Regions from separate parts of the Homo sapiens genome. Here all the other regions are linked to region 1. The links are contacts of gene promoters, found by promoter capture Hi-C in blood cells and fetal thymus (Javierre and others, 2016). All regions are on one chromosome and are shown on one strand. Each heading gives the region's core, a stretch centred on a gene start or on the middle of the fragment in contact. The rest is flanking DNA. Distances are from core to core; before and after follow the strand shown. Region 1 holds the start of MBIP (MAP3K12 binding inhibitory protein 1). Region 2 overlaps G2E3 (G2/M-phase specific E3 ubiquitin protein ligase). Region 3 overlaps FANCM (FA complementation group M).

The links. Contacts are between HindIII fragments. The CHiCAGO score rates a contact against its expected background, and 5 or more counts as called.
Region 2: a fragment that was not itself captured here is called in contact with the fragment with the promoter of MBIP in region 1 in 4 of 17 cell types (total CD4 T cells, total CD8 T cells, non-activated CD4 T cells and 1 more); the score reaches 14.0 in total CD4 T cells.
Region 3: a contact is called between a fragment that was not itself captured here and the fragment with the promoter of MBIP in region 1, in 1 of 17 cell types (naive CD8 T cells). The highest score is 5.2, in naive CD8 T cells.

The regions. Positions count from the first base shown.
Region 1 is chr14:36,319,382-36,322,081 of GRCh38, forward strand. It overlaps MBIP (MAP3K12 binding inhibitory protein 1), which reads right to left and starts at 1,256. Exons shown (of 9, transcript NM_016586.3): 1 at 1,079-1,256. The coding sequence starts at 1,207. RefSeq lists enhancers at 945-1,204, 1,605-1,654. The HindIII fragment of the contact is 840 bases long and covers 782-1,621 here.
Region 2 is chr14:30,617,430-30,620,129 of GRCh38, forward strand. It overlaps G2E3 (G2/M-phase specific E3 ubiquitin protein ligase), which reads left to right. Exons shown (of 15, transcript NM_017769.5): 15 at 1-2,635. Among named protein-coding and RNA genes, the nearest start is that of SCFD1, 3.5 kb to the right of the region's middle. The HindIII fragment of the contact is 4,510 bases long and covers 1-2,700 here.
Region 3 is chr14:45,148,799-45,151,498 of GRCh38, forward strand. It overlaps FANCM (FA complementation group M), which reads left to right. Exons shown (of 23, transcript NM_020937.4): 4 at 39-197; 5 at 2,599-2,700. Among named protein-coding and RNA genes, the nearest start is that of FANCM, 14 kb to the left of the region's middle. The HindIII fragment of the contact is 2,426 bases long and covers 142-2,567 here.

The DNA of each region.
Region 1 (2,700 bases), core at 6-2,505:
AAAGTTATATCTTTAAGCAGACTCCATTAATAACTGCGTCATTTCATAAAACCGTTTAACTTACAGTAATGTTCTTTGTAAGACACAACATACTACGATTTTTAAAAATAGTAACTTCTTAAAAGACTGATTCTCCATCTACTCAAGGCTTTAAAAATAATTTTCACAAATCAGACAAATGTTCTATTTTCATAGGAATTTACCATTATCTTTGACACAAATGCCTGCTTTGTCCACTTGCGCTAGTACCAGCCCCAAAACAAACTTTTACGGCTAGAAAATGGTCTATGTAAGATAGAAAATATTTCCTTTTAAAAGGCAGGTAAACAAGCATACTTTTAAATTGTTTCTCATTTAAAACTTGAATTTTACACCATGAAACGAAACAGTGACTTGATCGAAGAAGCCCATTTCAATTTAAAACCAATTTTACTATGACATTTCTGCAAAAGCGATTTATCAGCCAGTTAAACTAGTTAATAGTTAAATAACGACAGTTCTAACGCCAACAGCATTTTACGCTAGAAGTATTTTAAATGAATTCCTTTTACTTTTCTCCCCATTTGAAAGGATTATAGATGCGCAAAACAGCCCGAAGGAAAAAAGAAATAAACAAAACCAAGTAACTCATAAGAACAAATTACTCCCTCCCCCACCAAAAAAAGCTAATAAGCGCGCGCTTTTCTATAAATCTCAGGCCTACTGACCAACCAATTCCCATAAAGAGTAAGTTGGAGGAAAAAGGACCCTGAACGCTAAGCGCCTCCTAAACTCGCAGTGAAGCTTTTCCACATTCATTCTCTCCAAGCCTGCCTCTCTCGGAGCCGGGTTTTCACTTAGGCCAACCTCACCCACTCTTGGGGAGGACAGCTGCAAGGTAAACGACTCTGCAACCGGTACCGCCGTCCTCCTCACTCCGACCGAGGAGGCTGGGCCCGGGCTCCTTCCACACCTCGGCTTCGGGACCGCATCCCACACCTCTGCAGGCCTAGCTGCCCCCGGCCTCTGCTAGAGAAAAAGAATGGCGAGGAGGGACCGGATGGTTTCCATATTCCCAGTCCCTCAGGCCACCTCTCACCTGTCCAACCAGGGTGTGTAGGGAGCGAAAGATTTCGTAGAGCACCTCTCGGGAGAGGTTGGGTCTGCATCTTCGCTCCAGGTTCCTGTCACCGCTGCTCGGGCGATTAAGCTCCGTGGCAGCAGCCATGATATCTTCTCAGGCCGCCCCACCACCACCACCACCAAGATTTGCTCACAACCCCGCCCCCTCCCTTCCAGCTTTAGTCGCTTGGCGATGACGTAAGACACGGAGTCTGGTTTAGATCGGGCTTTGAGGCCCCACCCTCTCTATGTGAATGACAAGCACGTTACACCAATCAGTTGCAGCTGTGACATTGCGCCGAGGCTCTGAAGTGGGTAATTGCAGACCACAGCTAGGCTGGAATGCTGTGTTTGGGGTGGTCATTAGAGTCGTGGTCTCTTTAGCGTTATGAAGCCTACCTTGACTCCTAGGTGTTCATTGTGAATCTTGGTAAGAGGAGACATAGTTAAATTTTGTAGTTTGAGTCCAAAAAGTAAAAGTTGACATTTTAACATGGCGGTGTGGAGTGGGTCTGGAGGAAGCTTGCTGGTCAGGGATGGAGTGGTGCCCACACGTGTTTCTAAACATTGGAAAACTCACACGGAATTATCATGATTGGATAGAACATTTTCATCTCTTCAAGTTTGTTGTTGTTGTTTTGGAGACAGAGTCTCACTCTGTCGCCCAGACTGGAGTGCAGTGGCACTACCTCGGCTCACTGCAACCTCCGCCTCCCAGGTTCAAGCGGTTCTCCTGCCTCAGCCTCCTGAGTAACTGGGACTACAGTTGATATTCTCTGTTTTAACTGTAGAGACGCTTAACCCTAAAATTGTTTCAAAGAAATGAAACACTGTCAATATAATTCCAACAGGAATTTAACCTGGATAAATAATATCATGCAACCACAATCTTTGAAATTAGGACATAAAACCGAATTCAAATTTTACAAAGTATTATTTATCATAATAGCTTTATTATAACGATGTTTGTGGGGTTTTGTAATCTTTTAGTCAGACTCCGATATTTTTAAAAAGTGTTATCCAATTAAAGTATTACAATAATTTTTAGTGTTAAGCTTTATTCAAAAACACTTTAAGAAATCAACATCAGCTTAGAGATAAGGAAGGTGGGATTTAAAACTCGTAATTCTGTTAATAGTCTAATGCATTTACAGTAGAGAAAGCAAAGGTGGAAACTTGCACAATGTGTATTCTTTAGTTTTAGGGTAGACTAAATTAAAGGGAAGGACTAATGCATCAAGGAACTAAGATAAGGACGATGGGGATAAAAACTCCTTTGACCTGTCCCTAGGGAGTCTCTTAATTAGGCTTTCATTTCCAAAGACAAATGGGATCACCAGGCTTGACAGAATCTTGGGAAATCTTTTCTGTTCCCTTGTTGGCAGCAAGATATACAACTGACATTCCAGCCTATTTCTACAGGCAGAAAAATACTTCACAATGTCCAGTCTCAAATTGAGCAACCTTCTTATTCAAGCATGGTAATGGGGTAACTGTAAGTTTTTGTTTTGTACCAAATTAGCAATCAGTTTCAGATCATTTGTTTTCATTGAGGTGTTTCATATTTTTTCAAATATGGAGAACACTGATATGCAACAC
Region 2 (2,700 bases), core at 133-2,632, 5.7 Mb before region 1:
TGTTTGGTATTCTGTATGTCTGATCCATAATCATTTTAGATATTTGAATGATCTCTGTGGATTGGTAGGTTTGGCCATTTGACCATTATTTATTATCAAGTTGGTTGTATGCTAAGGTAAGTTGACGCCATAGCATTATACAGTTATCTTCATTGCTCTTGAATGATATCTGTTATATAAGCAATGTATAAATAAAGTAAAAAGGATAGAATGAAAAACCCATTCTAATGTCACCACTCAGAGATAAGTACCGTATTTCTGTGTATCCTTCTATAAACTCTTTACTTCTGTTTCCTTTATTTTTTAACTTTAATAATGCTACTAAAAGACAATACCTAAAAGTAACTGTACTAACAAAGTGCTAACAATGTGAAAATATATAGTCCCATAGTCATGTCCCCATATTTATACTCCCACAGAAGAAAAAATTGGAAAACAAAGTCTGATGTCCTTAATCTATTAACATATTTAAATGATATAATGGTTCAGTTTTCCATGAAAGTAAATCATTATGGGAAGTAAAATGTTTTAACCATATTTTTCTTAATACACAAAGCAGGTGTCAGCTGTTGTATTCTCACCCTTCTTAAGAAAAATCATTACATTATTGATATTTTTTAAGTAACAGAATAGATTTGAAAGAGATAATATATCTCTTAATACCAAAGGAAAACTAAAACATAATTCTAGTGTACTTTTCTTTGTTCCCTCATGTCTTTTTCAATCTGTACACTAACATACCTAGCAAATTTGTTTTACTTTAACTTGAAATATTTAAGAACATTAAACAAGACATTTCTTTGGCTTTGGTTGAATTTTTTTGTCTCACCAATAGTAATTGAAAGATCAATTATCAAAGAGTTTGAATAGCTAATATAAACCCCAAAGTCACCATACAGTTTTTATTCCAAATATGTTGATAAAAAGATATTTGTTTCTTTATCCACCTTATTTTTATTACAGCTAAAAACCAATACAAACCAATAAAACCTAGTTAAAGCTATTTTCTGGTTTTTAGTTGCAATTAATTTCCCCTAGGGTAGAAATTAAAGCTGATTAAGTCACACACACATACTTTGTTGGGGTGGGGGTGGCAGGTGGAGAGGCAGTGTACTTGGGTTAGCTACAATTAAAAACAGTATTTCAATTCCTCATTTGACTTATTTTATATATAGACAGGGCCTTAGTGATAAGATGGTGTAAATAATTTAGGATATTCATGTTTTAAAGTGAAGCATAAATATTTATTTTGCAAAATGTTTTCTAGTTTGAAGGATGTTCCATTATTACCATTTTTAGATTAATCTGTATGGTCAAGGAATATCAGAGAAACCTGTAGGTTATTTATTTTCTGCAGTGTCATTTTGTCAAATGGTTGGTATTATAATTGTTCTTTTCTTATTAATTTTATAACCAGTGCATAATTCTTACATTAGATTTTAAAAAAGAATTATGCTATAAATCTTTATAAATGTGTACATATATTTCTTAAATATTGCAATTGCCTAAATGTTGTATATTTTAAGGCTGTTTTCTCTTGCTCTTAATGTTGAGGAAAACTATAAATTGATCTATAATGCATCTACTGTTAATGGTTTTGGTTAGTTTGATATTCATTGTTTTTAAACACTTTCCAATATGGAAACTTTAACACCTTTTATACAATTCTCTACTATTCAAGATATTCTTTAAAATATCTCACCAGAAACTTACAATTTTATACTTTGTAATTTTTAGTTTCTGTAATTTGAGGAAGTGACTTTTTTTGTTTGGGTTAAGTAAAAAGCCTTTGATTGATTACCAGCATGAGAATTCACCTTGGTTTCTATTTTATGCATTTGTAAATTTTTCCCCTAATTATATGGAAGCTATTGGAACTTTTGTATTCAGTGCTAAATACTAAGTCAAGGGGAGTATATTAGGTAAGTTTTTTCAGTGACTGTGCCTTTAGCATTCAGTCATTATAAGAAAATGATCAGAACAAAATCATTACATTATAAACATGTAATTCTTTTATATAGTGATTATCATGTACTGCATTGTTACTTTAAAATAAGCTATTAAACTAGTTTTTATGGTTCAAGTAATGCAATACAAAGTTTCATGCTTCAAGTAATGCAATACAAAACATAACCCATTTAATGATGAATTACTTGAATGTATATTATCTGTGGTTTAGGAAAATTTGGATTGTCTTGAAGAGACTCAGTTTTCAAGTTCTGATTTTGACCATTATCTCTTCTAATTCATAAACATATCCCAGTACCTACACTATGCCAGGTATTATGCTAGGTGATCGTTTATATGTCAGCCTATTTCCCCCCCTTTTAAAGACTGCCAGATTAACCAAAAAGCGTGACATTTATAACAATGTTTTATAAATAAATAAATGTGTTTATGCCACTAAAGGTAAACTGCCTATTTAAACTAAGTAATTTTTTGGGATTTAATAAGATTAAGATTCTGACGAAACTGAAAGATACAAGATTCCTTTACTCTCCACATTTGAGAGATCCTATAAGCAAGCAGTTAGTGTCTGACACCCAGGAACCTATAGAAATGAGGGAATCTGTGTTAAAACTATGTATCCTCTAATGTAAAATAGCTTACCAGAATAAATTATTTAAGCCAAAAATCTGGACTCAGATAAATGGCTATAGTAAATTAGGTTAATGAACAATCTGTAGCCATAGATTATTT
Region 3 (2,700 bases), core at 105-2,604, 8.8 Mb after region 1:
CATGTAGTTTATAATCATACTTAATTGATTTCATATAGGCTGTGCAACAAGTTATTACTAACCTGCTAATTGGGCAGATAGAGCTTCGTTCTGAAGATTCTCCAGATATTTTGACATATTCTCATGAAAGAAAAGTTGAAAAGCTTATTGTTCCGCTTGGTGAAGAACTTGCAGCCATCCAAAAGACCTATATCCAGGTAAACCATTTTTATGACATTTAGGGATTTCATAAATAAACTGGTAATTGAATTATTTCAGCTAACAGGATTTGGATGTGATAATATAGTTATCTTATTTTTATATAATTGATATGTTGAAAAAATTCTTTGAAGTTAAAATTTTTGGAATGAGCACTGTGTTTTGTATGTACTAGCAAACTGTTATTGAAAGGGAAAATACAAAAGATGGGCCATTTGTAAAGCAAATAATAGCCTTACATGGTTTTGTATTTTTTTAAGTAAACCTTATAACTGGAATATAGAACATGCACACACACACACACACACACACAAACAGCAAAAGTAGACAAAGCATAAGTGTATTGCTCAGTGAATTTTCACAAATTGCACACACCCGTAACATGAACACGTACTGAGATTCAGCCAGAAGTTTCTTTGTTTTCTTTTTGTTGTTTTTTGTTCAGCTCACTGCAGCTTCCACCTCCCTGGTTCAAGCAGTTCTCCTTAGCCTCCCAAGTAGCTGGGATTACAGGCACATGCTACCACATCTGGCTAATTTTTATATTTTTGAATAGAGACGAGGTTTCACCTTGTTGGCCAAGCTGGTCTTGAACTCCTGACCTCAAGTGATTTTCCTGCCCCGACCTCCCAAAGTGCTGGGATTACAGGTGTAAGCCACCATGCGCCCGGCCCCCAGAAGTTTCTTTGTATTGAAATATATTTTCACTGTTGTCCTCCCTGATCTTTATGCAGCAGTGCTTTTCATCTGGAAATTACTTCACCTACCTGGCAACATTTGGCAATGACTTGACACATTTTTGGTTCTTACAACAACAACAACAACAACAAAAAGGCAGGAGAGAAGGGGGAGGTAACAGGTGAAATGTGGAGTTATTATTGGCATCTAGTATATGGAGGCCAGGAATCAGCTAAACATCCTACAATGGATAGGACAGCAACCCCACAACAAAGAATTATCTGGCTCAAATGTCAATATTATAGCTGTTAAGGACCTGCTTAGACAATTGTCATTTTCACTGGGAGAAATTTGTGGTAACACATTGTTTTTCTGTAGTTCATAATTAGTGTCATGGTTGAACAACATGGTTTCACATTTTCATTGCCATGGATTAAAGATGGTTACAGAAATAGATAACCAAAAAGTTATCTGTCACTTAATCTATAGTAAGCCTTTCTTAAAGAGACATTTTGTAGTAATACAGCTTTTTTGTTTTTAAATTGTTTGTAACAAAATTCTAAGCATTATTGAGTTAAGATATGGCAAAGTCTTTTTGTAATTGTCTCTTTGATACTAGTGCATTTTTAATTGAAAATCATTCCATTTATAACAATGTAAATATGATAATTCTTATAATCATATACAAATGTAATTTAATTTTGTTAGTATTTTTAGAGTGCCTTATTAGGCAGTATGATCAGCAAAGTTGGAAGGGAGGAAAAAAAATGTATTAAACTAGCCATAATTTAGAAAATACAAATTAGGCAAAAATTTAAACACTTACATACTGCGGTAGTAGGTCTTCATCTATAGGTCTCCTTTTGTGCCATTAAGCTCATTTCCGCCTCAGGACTTTTTGTTTGCTGTCTCCTCTCTCTGGAATCCTTTGTCCTTAGAACCTCACATGGTAGACATACCTTATCATTCACATGTGAACTCAAATGTTCTCTTCTCAAAGAGAGTCTTTGTTCACCTTATTTAATAATGATCCCTTTCCTCTCAAAGACTCTACAGCATTATTGTGTTTTAGATTCTTAAATGCATTTGTTATAATGAAAATGATCTACTTTCTTTGTTCGCTTCTTTATTCTTCGGTTCCCTCCATTGGAATGTAAACTATATGAGAGCAGTGACAAATAAAGTCTTAGCCACACTATCCCCAGCATTTAGAACAGTGCCTGTTACATAGTAGATGGTTAATAAATATTTGTTGAAAAAAATGCATCAGTGAGTAAAATTAAATATATTCAGGACATTTCAATTTATTCAGTACTTTACAAACTACTCTACAAATATCTGCTGAGGACCTAAGTGCCAAACTGGTCTAGATACTGAGGATGTAACAGTGCAGAAATCAAAGGTCTTCGTTCATGGTACTTACACTTAGATTATAGTGTGTGTAGGTTGAGAGAGAGAGGAGTTAAGAAATAAACAGATAAACGAATGTGTTGTTAAATTACAGTTGTATATAATAATTGCTTATGTTGATTTTTATATGGATATTATTTGGGGATAGATGTCAAGTAGTTTTAAATGTTATCATTGCTGAGTTTACTTAAACATTCATTGTAAGACAAACTTTATTAAATATATAATTCCTATTTTAATATGTGAGAAAATGATTGTACTTGAAAAAGGACTTTAGAGCAAGCTTAAACTAGATTGCTTTTAAATTTGCAGATTTTGGAATCATTTGCTCGTTCTTTGATTCAGAGGAATGTTTTGATGAGAAGGGATATCCCAAATCTAACAAAATATCAGATAATTCTGGCAAGAGATCAG